Regions from separate parts of the Homo sapiens genome. Here region 1 is linked to region 2. The links are contacts of gene promoters, found by promoter capture Hi-C in human tissues and cell types (Jung and others, 2019). All regions are on one chromosome and are shown on one strand. Each heading gives the region's core, a stretch centred on a gene start or on the middle of the fragment in contact. The rest is flanking DNA. Distances are from core to core; before and after follow the strand shown. Region 1 has its middle 37 kb from the start of SEC61A1. Region 2 holds the start of GATA2 (GATA binding protein 2).

What was found. The method cuts DNA at HindIII sites, captures the fragments that hold promoters and counts their contacts. A contact is called where the count stands out against the background at its distance.
Region 1: a contact is called between a fragment that was not itself captured here and the fragment with the promoter of GATA2 in region 2, in 1 of the 25 tissues and cell types used here (lymphoblastoid cells).

Annotation. Positions count from the first base shown.
Region 1 is chr3:128,012,640-128,018,749 of GRCh38, forward strand. No RefSeq gene overlaps it. Among named protein-coding and RNA genes, the nearest start is that of SEC61A1, 37 kb to the right of the region's middle. The HindIII fragment of the contact is 7,137 bases long and covers 1-5,653 here.
Region 2 is chr3:128,489,600-128,496,195 of GRCh38, forward strand. GATA2 (GATA binding protein 2) reads right to left here and starts at 3,602. Exons shown (of 6, transcript NM_032638.5): 1 at 3,300-3,602. It overlaps GATA2-AS1 (GATA2 antisense RNA 1), which reads left to right. Exons shown (of 3, transcript NR_125398.1): 1 at 1-71; 2 at 180-470. RefSeq lists enhancers at 1-730, 731-1,540 and a silencer at 3,312-3,401. The HindIII fragment of the contact is 13,259 bases long and covers 1-5,674 here.

The sequences.
Region 1 (6,110 bases), core at 835-3,334, 480 kb before region 2:
ACTCCCACCAGCGCCATGACAATTTACAGATGCCATGGCAACATCAGGAAGTTATCCTACATGGTCGAAAAGGGGAGACAAGAATAATCCATCCCTTATTTACCATATCATCAAGAAATAACCATAAAAATTGGCAACTAGCAGCCCTCAGGGCTACTCTGCCTACAGAGTGGCCATTCTTTTGTTTCTTCGCTTCTCCAATAAACTTGCTTTCACTTTACTCTACAGATTCGCCTCGAGTTCTTTCTTGCCCGAGATCCAAGAATCCTCACTTGGCATCTGGATCATGACCCCTTTCCAGTAACATTACCAGTTTATGTATTTACTGTATTTTACTTTTTAATCATTATTTTAGAGCATACTCCTACTTATTAAAAAAAAAGTTAGTGATAAAACAGCCTCAGGCAGGTCCTTCAGAAGGGATTCCAGATGAAGGCATTGTCATCACAGGAGGTGACGGCTCCATTAGTGTTACTGTCCTTGAAGACCTTCCAGTGGGACAGGAGTTGGAGGTGGAAGGTAATGATATCACTGATCGGGACCCTGTGTAGCAGGTCTCAGCTAATGTGTGTGTTTGTGTCTTAGTTTCTGAAAAAAATGTTTAAGAAGTAAAAAAAAAAAAAAAAATTAATAGAAAAAGGTTTATACAATAAGAATATAAAGAAAGAAAATATTTGTGTATGATTGTACAATGTGTTTGTGTTTTAAGTTAAGTGTTATTACAAAAGAGTTGAAAGTGGCTGGGCATGGTGGCTCACGCCTGTCATCCCAACACTTTGGGAGACCAAGGCGGGCAGATCACAAGGTCAGGAATTCAAGACCAGCCTGGACAACATGGTGAAACCCCATCTCTACTAAAAATACAAAAATGAGCCGGGCATAGTGGCGCACACCTGTAACCCCAGCTACTCGGGAGGCTGAGGCAGGAGAATTGCTTGAACCCTGGAGGTGGAGGTTGCAGTGAGCTGAGATTGCGCCACTGTACTCCAGCCTGGGTGACAGAGCGAGACTCTGTCTCAAAAAAAAAAAAAAAAAAAAAAAGAGTTGAAAGTTAAAAAAATTGAAAAGTTTCTGAAGTAAAAATGTTACAGTAAGCTAAACATAGTTTGTTATTGAAGAAATAAAATATATTTTATAAATTTGTGTAGCCTAAGTACACACATTTATAAAGTCTGCTATAGTGCACAGTACTGCCCTAGGCCTTCAGGTTCACTTACCACTCACTCACCGACTCACTGACTCACCCAGGGCGACTTCCAGTCCCACAAGGCTCCATCCCTGGTGAGTGCCCTATACAGGGGTACCTTTTCACAATTTTTTTTTTTTGAGACAGTCTCGCTCTGTCGCCCAGGCTAGAGTGCAATGGCACCATCTCAGCTCACTGAAACCTCTACCTCCTGGGTTCAAGTGATTCTCCTGCCTCAGCCTCCTGAATAGCTGGGATTACAGGCACTCACCAACATGTCTGGCTAATTTTTGCATTTTTAGTAGAGATGGGGTTTTGCCATGTTGGCCAGGCTGGTCTTGAACTCCTGACCTTAGGTGATCCACCCGCCTTGGCCTCCCAAAGTGCTGGGATTACAGGCATGAGCCACCATGCCCAGCCGGAATTCTTAATTTCTGAAAAACTGAGTTCCTTCCAGTTTATATATTAGGCACAGGAATCCTGATCCAAAGGAAATACACTGCAGCACCAATTGGCTGACTTTGGATAAGTAATGGGGTACATTTTACTTGAGTAAAGGATGGGATTGAGTTAGAGGGCCTCCCCTCAGTAAAGTCCCTCTTGGTTAAAAATAGATTAAAGATGACAGGGTCCAACTGAGGGCAAGCCTTGCCAGTTCAATATTGGGTGCTAAACAGCGTGGCCAATGTCTATGTTTTGTCACTCATATTTTCCTCTGGCCAGAATGAAAAATGTTAATTGGGTTACCCCATGCAACCCCTTGAGCAGCAACTTGCAAAACTGAGAGGCTTTTGCCTGATTCCATAAAACAAAAAAAGATGATTTTCCTTTATGATGTGGCTTGGCCCCCAGGGCTATAGTGTGGCAAGCAGGGTCACTAGGGTTGCTCAGGGAAAGGGAACCCAGGAGCCTGGCATGCCCGCAAAAGGGTAAGAATTTATTACCAGTCGGACTCTGACCTTTCTCTCTCTGTGAAAACTGGTTAAATAAATGGTAAAAATCACTGTTTATCTCCTCTCTAAAGTTTTGATTAACACAAAAAAGAATTCTGAGGCTGGTCTTAAGCTGTAGTGAACCTGGTGTGCTTTATGTGTCTTTCTGTATTGTTCTGTCGTGAAAGGGAGTACCTTAGGATAAAGCATGTGTCTAGGACACCATAAACCCACTGTTCAAGATGGCCCAGAAAACTGGTCAGTCATGTCCTTGGGAGCCTGACCTTATAACCATGTGGCCATGCTTTCCCTTTTCATAATGGAGGCCCAGGTTCAGGGTTCAATTCCCTTAGGAAATGAGTACTTTCTGGTTTGATATCTGTGTAATCCTTACCATTTGTTGATTCTCTTCCCCTCCATGAACCATCTTAAATTTTCCTTTCTCTGAGCACAGAAATACTGTGCATTTGGCCTAGGCAAGGCTGCATAATAAAAGATTTAAAAGGAATTTTAAAAAGAGCACTATAGTTAAAAGTCAGCTTAATTAAAACTGGATATTAAAGCTCTAACAGCCTGGGACTCCTTGGGAAAAACAGGAGGCTCCAGAGACCTGTTTTGGAAAAAAATCCCTTTTCCTCATGGAACCTCAGGAATTGGAAATGGATAGATCCTCCTCAAAATCTAAGGCTCTGTTCTTTTTAGGATCCAGGATCTGGTGTAAAAATGGGATCTGTTTTTCCCTTCCAACTGTGCCTGCTTATTAGGCTCTAGAAATTGCAGGCTTTCCTGGCCCTGTTCTTCCACCCTAGGACTCCACTCTAAAGCCAGTAATCCAACTTAAAAAACTTAAAACTTGGCTGGGCACAGTGGGTTATGCCTGTAAACCCAGCACTTTGGGAGGCTGAGGCAGGTGGATCACGAGGTCAGGAGTTTGACACCAGCCTGGCTAACATGGTGGAACCCCGTCTCTACTAAAAATCCAAAAAATTAGCCTGGTGTGGTGGTACACACCTGTAATCCCAGCTACTTAGGAGGCTGAGGCAGGAGAATCGCTTGAACCCAGGAGGCAGAGGTTGCAGTGAGCCAAGATCACGCCACTGCACTCCAGCCTCGGTGACAGAGTGAGACTCTGTCTCAAGACAAAAAACACACACACGCATACACACAACTTAAAAATTGGCAAATGAAAAATCTTACAACTACTTCTGTCTGTCTGTGCAGTTATATATGTGTTGTGTGTGTGATGTTTATATAAAAGAGCTCTAATTAATTGGCTTTAAGAAAACTAAGCACTTAAATCAAATATTTTGGCAGAAAAGTAAAAACTGTAATGTCTTAGTTCACATAACTTTAGTAATCTTGGGGAAATAAAAACAGCTTTAAAGACTATTGGTAAAATAAAGACATTTGGTCTAAATTAGGCAGGTTAGATATTTGATTTGCTAAATGCTTTAAGGTCATAAACTGCTTCTTAGGCTTTTGAAAATTATTCAATTTACCTACTTTGGAGCATTAGATTCTAAATAAGGGCCAGGCACATGGCTCATACCTGTAATCCCAGCACTTTGGGAAGCCAAAGCAGGTGGATCACTTGAGGCCAGGAGTTCGAAAGCAGCCTGGCCAACATGGAGAAACCATGTCTCTATGAAAAATACAAAAATTAGCTGGGTGTGGTGGCATGTATCTGTAATTCCAGCTACTCAGGGGGCTGAAGCAGAAAAATCACTTGAACCTGGGAGGCAGAAGTTGCAGTGAGCCAAGATCAGACCACTGCACTCTAGCCTGGGTGACAGAGTGAGTGAGACTTTGTCTCCAAAAAAAAAAAAAAAAAAAAAAATCCAAATAAGGCCTGGGGACAACCAGTAAAATAACTTGTTGTTTAAAAAGAGGGATGTTTAGGACAAGTCAGAAAGTCCATGCATGTTGTAGATGGCTTGTGTACATTGTGAAAGGATTTGTGAAAGAAAATTTATGCACCAAAAGTAAAAGTTGCTAAGAGTTACCATTGTAACACGTGATTGAGACTACTGAAGAAATAGTTTTACATGCAAGGTGTGTGAGGAGAATGAAATGTGTTTTTGGTAAAAGATTCTAAGAAAGCATGGGAATGTAAATTTTTGCATAGTTTAGAGAGCTAAAGGATTGTTTTAGATAAGAATAAGCTAAAGGTTTGAACAAGTTGTGGAAGTTTTGTAAAAATTAATGTTGTTAAAAAAAATTCTGTATGTGAACATATTGACTAAATTTAAAGGAGTATTTTCCAATTTTTCCATAAATTGAACATCAAAATAAAGGCACAAACAGGGTTTCCTTAAATCACTGATCTGTTCTTTTTTTTTTTTTTTTTTTTTTTTTTTTTTGAGACAGAGTTTTACTCTTGTTGCCCAGGCTGGAGTGCAATGCTGAGATCTGGGCTCACCGTAACCTCTGCCTCCTGGGTTCAAGCAATTCTCCTGCCTTAGCCTCCCAAGTAGCTGGGATTATAGGCATGTGCCACCACACCTGGCTAATTTTTTATTTTTAGTAGAGATGGGGTTTCTCCATGTTGGTCAGGCTGGTCTCAAACTCCCAACTTCAGGTGATTTGCCCGCCTTGGCCTCCCAAAGTGCTGGGATTATAGGCATGAGCCACAGTGCCCTGCCTGATCTGCTCTTTAACAAAACTTTGTAAAGGGTTACAAAAGGTTTATGATAATCTCATCTTATGGTCAAACTGATTAAGATTGGAAAGATTTGTCTGTAAGGTTTTATTAAAAATTGGGGTTAACATTAATAGTAAACTAATGCAAGAGTGAAGTTTAGCTTTCTCTCTTGAACAAGATTTTCATGCATATTAACAGATAATGAAGCTTTTCATTTGCCTTTTGAATAAACTACTGAACAAAAGAAGGGAAAGAAAAGAGACAGATTGTTTGGAAAGCTAAGTCTTCCCTCTATCAATGAGTAAAGGTTTTGCCTTTAAAAAAATATTCGAGTCATCATTGTGGCTAAATGAATGACTTATGGAAACCTGGAATTCTATTTCATAATATCAAGTGTTTTAAACCTTTAACATATTTGATAGCCTTCCCGAAATCAAATTTCAGCTTCAAAATGGTCTTTTCTGACCTCTAGCTTTAAGATGCTACAGAGGACCCCTGAAGAATCCAAAAGAGAGGTAAACAAGATTATCTGACATGTTTCATTACATGGGAAACATTGTCAAAAATTTTAAAAAAAATTTAATCTACTTCAGTTTATATTTTAGTGAATATTAATATATGTTCCAAAATTATATGGGATTTCTAAAATTCTAATATGTTTGAGTATATGTTATCAATAATAATTATGGTTATGTTATTATAAACCACAGAAATATCCAAATTTCCTTGTCAATTGTGTTTTTGACTATAACAATTTGGCCGGGCAGGGTGGCTCATGCCTGTAATCCCAGCATTTTGGGAGACCAAGGCAGGCAGATCACCTAAAGTCAGGAGTTCAAGACCAGCCTGGCCAACATGGTGAAACTCTGTCTCTACTAAAAATACAAAAATTAGCTGATGGTGGTGTCACGCACCTGTAATCTCAGCTACTCAGGAGGCTGAGCCAGGAGAATCGCTTGAACCTGGGCGGCAGAGGTTGCAGTGAGCCCAGATTACGCCACTGTACTCCAGCCTAGGCAACAGAGTGAGACTCTGTCTCAAAAAAAAAAAAAAAAAAAAAAACTATTACTATTTAAATTCATTTCCGCAGTTAATTACTAAATGTTAATGCTGATGCAGTTTCTGAAAACTTCACAAGCCTACAAAATCCTGGAATATGGTGTCTTTTAGGAGATCCATGAAAGGATAAAAAGGACCCTAAAAAACACTCTGGAATACAGATTTCTAATAAATTTAGAATCATATCATTTTAACTGGGTAAGAATTCCTGGAACTTTAATGAGAAGACTGACTGAGTTACAAAACTGCTAGCCCAAGTAGAACAAAGATTAATTAAATACCAAGAAAATAC
Region 2 (6,596 bases), core at 2,352-4,851:
GAAGCCGCGCAGGGGGCGGGAGGCCGAGCGCGAGGCCCTTGGCGCCGGGCCTCCGCGGCCAGGCCGGGCAGGTGAGCAGTCTCCGTGCCTCCCGGTTGGCGTTCCCCTCAACGCGTGCGGTCCCGCCGGGGCCCACTGTCTCTCCGTCCGTCTGTCTCTCAACTTTTCCCATCCTTTAGCTTACGATTCTTCATCAACTCGTAAAATGAGATCGCCGCGGAGCTCGAGCCTATTTGGCGTCTCCGGAGACTAGCAAGACCCTCTGAAAGACACCGCGTCCCCAGGGATAATCCCCCGTGTCCGGCAAAGCTGCCCCGCTCGAGCGCGAACCCTGGGACCCAGCGCGGGAGGCAGACCAGCAGCTGGCCGCTGGGCTGTGAACGCCAGGACCGAGCGGAAGCTTCCCGCCCGGCCGCGATCGGTGCCGCGGCTCTCAGGGAAGTGGCTACGCGCGTCCCTCGGGAAAGCAGGTAATTCGCCTTTTTCTCCCACCGGCGCGGTAAAAATTACCCTCCCCCTCCCCGTTCCGTGTGTATTCCCAGTTTCAGCGCAGCGAGCTCGGCGTCTAACCCCTCCGCGGCAGGGTCCCGGCCACTGCGGTAGTGGAGGTGGCCAGCCTGGCTGAGTCCCCTGCCCAAACGTCAGCCCTGTGCTGCCGCCTGCCTGACGCAGAGCGGAGCGAGGGAGGGGATTTAATTACCCCGCTCGGCAGCTCAGAAAATCGCCGCACAGAGGGGCTTAGCAGGACGGTTAAGGAGTGCTTGAGCAGGGGCCTCGGGAGACCCGAACCAGCCTCCTTGCCCGCAATCCGGTGTAGAGGAAAAAAAGGAAACAGGAGTTCTGCCAGGTCCTTTCAGGCCTTGGGGTTGCCTTCCTCGACAACGCAGGCAGGAGCCGGCTTGACCGAAGCCTCCACCTCGGTTGCAGGTCCTGCGTAGGATGCGGGACTGCTGCATTCTCTGGCGGAAACGAACCCGCCTGGGAGAGAGAAATGCGACGCCAAGTAGCAGGGCGCCCAGCTGGCCAATAAAGAGGGACCCGCGCTCGACAATGTCTGTGTGTGCCAGGCAGACCGAGGGACACCAACCGGGCCCCTCCCCATTAGGCCGAAGACATGGTCCTCCCACCTTGGGCCCCAAACAAACTCCCGGGGAGGGTCAACGCAGCCCCCAGAATCTGCTGGGGTCTTGAGGCGCTGTTCCAGGCCTGGTGAGAGCAGATTTACTCCAATTTATGGGCTGGAACTTTGGGGTCCCCAAAACACCTTTAGAGGGACGCGTTCCCTTTTTCAGTACTTTGTTCGTTCGGGAGTATAGTTGGAAATGCTGGCGCTGCCTTTGATCACATTAAGAAGCTGTCACTTTCCTTACTTGGGAACAAGATTTCTCTGAGGACTGGAGAAGGTCAGCCAGGAAGCAGAATTTTCGAAGGACCCTTTTGGCCCGAGAACTCACAGCGGCGATCGCCACCATTTGACCTGGGTGCTTCTGCCTGGGAGCTGGGGAGGTAGCAGATCTGGTGCCCGGTTCTAGAGTGCTTCTCAGGCCTCTACTAAGCCGCGGGTGCCAGGTGGGGACACAGAGATGCCCAGGTCTCCCCGGCCGTCCAGCCCCCCCCCCCCTCTGAGCCCTTTGTTTAAAGTTAGCTCATCCGAGGCGGCCCCTTTGGGACCATAAGTTTGCCCTCCCTTTGTAACCTAATTCTTCTCGCCTTTTCCTTATGGGCAGCTAATTGGCCCGCGGTGTGGGGCTGGGGGTGGGGTGTCAAGGAAACCCATTTGCTAAGGGACTACCTTCCATAGAGAAATTTAATTCGCAACCCAGCGGCCTCCCAGCCCCACACTGGCAATAAACCTTGAGGGGTACGGGGAGGAAGTGGGGTGCCTTAGCAGATGGGTTCAGAAGTTCCCTTAAAGCCGGGGCATTAGATCTCAGGCCAGCAGCCATCCCTCCGGGGGGGTTCCCAAGGGGGGGACTACTGCTATAACGGCCCCTCCTGCTCCTTGAGGTTCAATTCCAGCCCCTTAAAGCAGAAGGCTCCCTCCCTCGGCATCAGTGCAGGCTCTCCCACCTCATTACTGTTCTGTGTCTTTGGGAATCGTAGAGTCTGTGGCCCCCACGTCCTAGGTGTCTCGGCACCCTGGACCCAGGCGCCTCCGAGATTCTATATCGCTTCTGACCCCTACCTTCAAGCCTGGCAGGCTCCCCGCGGAACCCTGCTGAGACCCGGAGACAATCGGGCCGTGCTTCTCCCTCCTCCACGAACAGCCACGGTTTATTTGGAGCGGCCGGGGCCGGCGGCCTGACAACTGGTAAATCCGTTTCGTTAGGCACAATTTGTCTGCAATTTGTCAGCCCGGCTGGGAAACGCTCCCCAGACGCCTCGGCTGCCGCACGGGCCCTACCTGGTTCTCGAATCCTGCCTGCTCATAAACGAATCCTAGCACGGGGTGCCTGCGTAGACCTGGAGCTCACCACCAGATGTTCCCGACCTCGGGAGAGGAGGCTTTTTCCAAAACAACGAATTTCCTTCCTTGTTTTCCGGTAAAGGAGCGTTCGCCACACACGGGGTCCCTGAACGCGGGGCCTTTCCCCTCGTGGTTGGAGCAACGCGGAGTTCAAGCCTGGCCGCCACAGAATAATTTTAAATGCCCCGTTTTCAGACAGATCCAGAACGCCGTCTACGCCTACCGGCGGCAGATCTTCAAGCCCGCGGCGGCCCCATTCTTATTGAAATCCCACTAAACGGATTCCGACTCCGGCTTGGGGCGGGGGGAGACTTCCAGACCCGGCGCTCTCCCCCACACGCACCCCAGTCACACAGGATAAAGGGCTGCGGGGCGCAGCGCGCGGGGGCGCAAGCAGGAGCGAGCTGGGTTAAGCCGCGAAAAGCCGGCGCACGGGACCAGCCGGCAGGTGCAGCCGCCGCTCGGCGGCCCGGCTCGGACGCATCCGCCGCGGTGGCCTGGGGATTGGGGGCGGCCGAGACAAAGGCCCCAGTTCGGGGGCCGGGAGGCGGGGGTGCTTTGCGAGGCTCTGGGAATGCCAGGGTCTCGTGGCCTGTGGCTCCGAGAAATGGGAAGACAAGAGGCCCGAGGCGGGCCTGCTGTGCCCAGGTAACCAAATACTCCCTCTGGTTAAAGTCCCTATAACCAGGGTTTCCGGTCTCTGGCAGGGCCAAGGCGAGCCCCAAAGGTAGGGGCCACAGGGCAAACGGACCAAGCGATTCGGGTGCCAGGCGGGCCGGGCCGGGGGCGGGAAGGGCCGGGCCCAGGGAAGGTGGAAGTGGAAGAAACTCACCGAGCGAGGCGCGGTGGGCGGCGCCCCCGGGCGGACGGGGCCTGGAGTAGAGCTGGGAGCAGGGCGAGGTGCGCGGCAGGCGGGCTCGCGGGACCTGGGCGCGGGGTGGCGGCGCTCACCAGCAGAGCCTGGGCGGCACGCCGAGCGGCCGCATGGTGTTCAGCGGACCGCTTTTGTCCGCCTGGTGGGCGACGGGGCCCTGCTAGGATGGATGTGGCGGCAGGCAATAGACAGACTTGAGCAGCGAGTCCCGGGGCGACGCTGGCCTCGCTACCTTCCTGGCGCTCACGCTGCCTCTCTCTCCCCCACCGGCCGCAACGCGGCTTTTTATTTCGACATCACTTTGCGGGGGGGCAGGGGGTGGCGACGGGGGCGGGAGCGCCGCAGGGGGCAGGAGGGTACCCGGGGCTCTGCACCCGGCCTACCAGGTCCAGCCGCCTGGCCGGCCAAGGGCCGCTAGGCACTCAGGGCGCGCACACCCTGTGCATCCACACTCCAGGCCGCTCCCACCCTCTCCGGAGCGCACACGCGCGCCCCTGACCTCAGGGATGCTTGCTCAGAAAGCTTGGGACACGTCTTTACTGAGACTCTCCCCGGGGACCCTCAGGAGCTGTGAGCACACGCACTCACTGATAATGGTACACAGACGCCCGCTCCTCTGTCTTCAACCCACTTCCAGGAGTGCTCACACGGACACGCACACATCCCTGCACATGTGCACACAGCTGTGGCCGCGAGGACATCCTCAGACAGACGGCCTGGGTCACACCGACACACATGGCCATACAATCAGATGCAACTCGGCACTCGGGCTCACACTCAGGACGCCCTCACTGCCAGGCTTGTTTAGCTAAGTGCAGGCGCAGCCCCTCTCCCTGTCCCACCCCCCCTCCAGTTCCTAACGCTGGGGGACCCCCTGAGCACTTTAGAAGTCCACTGTCTGGTGTCCCCCTGGCCCATCTCCTTGGGGCAGACTCTCACAATGGGGGAAGCAAGGAAGTGTGCAGAGGGCTTGTTCACAGAAGTGGGAGTCAGGAGGGGGGGAGAAAGTGAGTGTGGGAGTCCTCATCCCCAGAAGGCCCCTGGGTTTGTGGGCAAAGACAGTCCAGTCCTTGTGCTGCCAAAGTTCTTACTAAGGGATTCAACCAGTCAGCGTCCCCCCACCCCCACCCCTGATTCCCATTCCAGCAGATCAGGGAGAGTGAAAGTGGCCTGGGGACCTTGAGCCCAGAGGGAAAGTGCTTGGGCTTGGAAGGACTGGGAAATCTGTGCTCCCGTGCCCAGGTGTGCCCCAGAGGAGTGTTTCTGTCCCCTGGTCTTTGTGACCCCTGCTGTCCATAGGTCTTTCTCCAAATCTGGTGGTGACTATTGCATTGTGTGTGTGTTCTATGCATGTGGCTCAGAGTCTATGTCCTGTGTGCCCAGGTGTGTCTGTGTGCACTTAGGAGCACACAGGAGTGTCTGCAAAACTGGGTGTATGAGTATGTTCATTTCTTCTTGTGGGTTCCTGAGAGTTTGTGTATTGGGCAGTAGGTCACAGTGTGGCTATTTCATGACCCTGGAATTTGGCACAAGAGAGTGTGTCTGTGGAAATGGTTGTGCGTCCCTTTGGCTCTGTGTCTGTGGGGTCATCATGTCAGAGACTCATGTAATGAGGGGTGGGGATTTCCAGGTGTTTGCCCATGTGTCTGTAGCAGTGTGTGGCATGTCTATGAATGGGTGTGTTTTGGAGTGTGTGTTTGCGTGTGTATGTGCATGTATCTAGGCATGTGTTACTGTGTGTATTTTTGTTGTTGTTGTTGTTTTGTTTTGTTTTGTTTCTTGAGACAGGGTCTTGATCTGTTACCCAGACTGAAGTGCAGCGGTTCAATCAGCGCTTACTGCAGCCTCAACCTCCCAGACTCAAGCCATCCTCCCACCTCAGCCTCCTGAGTATCTGGGACCACAGGCATGTGCCACCGTGCCTGGCTAATTATTTTTATTTTTATTTTTGTGGAAACACAGTCTCACTATGTTGCCCAGACTGGTCCCAAACTCCTGGACTAAAGCAATCCTCCCACCTCGGCCTCCCAAAGTCCTGGGATTATAGGCGTGAGCTACTGCGCCTAGCCTGTGTGTGTCTTTAATAGTTTGTACCTGGGTATCTGCATGTGTCCTTGAACTGGTGTATGTGTAGGTGTGTGTGTGTGGTGTGTTGCATGTGTCTGGATATCCATGTATAATTCTCTTTATTAATTGATGGCTGTTGGGGCGTGTGTTTGTGTTTGTGTATTTGAACATGCATTTGGCTATGTGCATGTCCATCTGTCTTTAACAGCATAGGTATCAGTGTATATCATTGTATCTTTGAACTGATGGTGGGGAGGAGGAGATGTATCCGAGTGTGTCTGCATGTCTACGTACAGCTCCATGTATGAATTGATGTGTGTTGCGGTGGGTGTTTGTGTCTGCGTATCTGGGTTGTGGGCAACTGTGTATATGACTACATCTTTGAAATGCATGTTTCTGTGGCCAGCAGTGCCCTGTTCTGTGGACTGTAGAAAAGTGTGTCCTGGGTGACACGCGGGGTGTGCATCCTGCAGGATCACACACCATCCAGACCTTCCTTAACCAGCAGGGCAGGCCGCCAGTGGAGCTCTAGGGTACCATTTGCTCGGGCACTTTCTGTCTGTCTGTGGGAGGGGAGATGAGCTGATAAGGCTTATCTGCTGTCGCCAGCGCCATGCTGAATAACTGCTCTAATGAGGTGTCCTCATTGGGACCACCCGATCCCAAGGCCCTGGGCCTCACTGGGGAGGGGCATGGGCGAGCTTGTCTGAAGCACAGGAGCAGGGCCTGGGTGCCTACAGGGCCTTTTCTACTTCTGTCTTGTTTCCTTGGAAAGGGGGTTCCAGGCCTTGCACCTCCCCACCCCACCTGCCTCCTGCCTACTGGGCGGAGCTGGGCTGGCCAGGCCAGAGCTGGCTGGAGCCTTCCAGTCTCTGGTCTGTGGCCAGGTTCACAGCCTTGAGAGGGCAGGAGGTATGAGGCCTGGAGATGTGGGGCCCTCAGGGTGGGGTGGATGAAGAGAAATGGAGATTCAGTGACAGAAAGATCCAGAGAGACAAGGAGTGGGGAAAGAGATGGGAGGCCCAAAGACAGATTTTAAAAAAACAATGAGGAAGAGGCACTGGTGGGGACAGGCCTGGAGCTTGGGGACACTTGGAGACAGACAGAAATAAACAACTAAAAAGTGGCAGAAAGGGTCAGAAAGATGGGAATAAAAGCAAAGAAGGTGATAACCACAGAGACATGGAC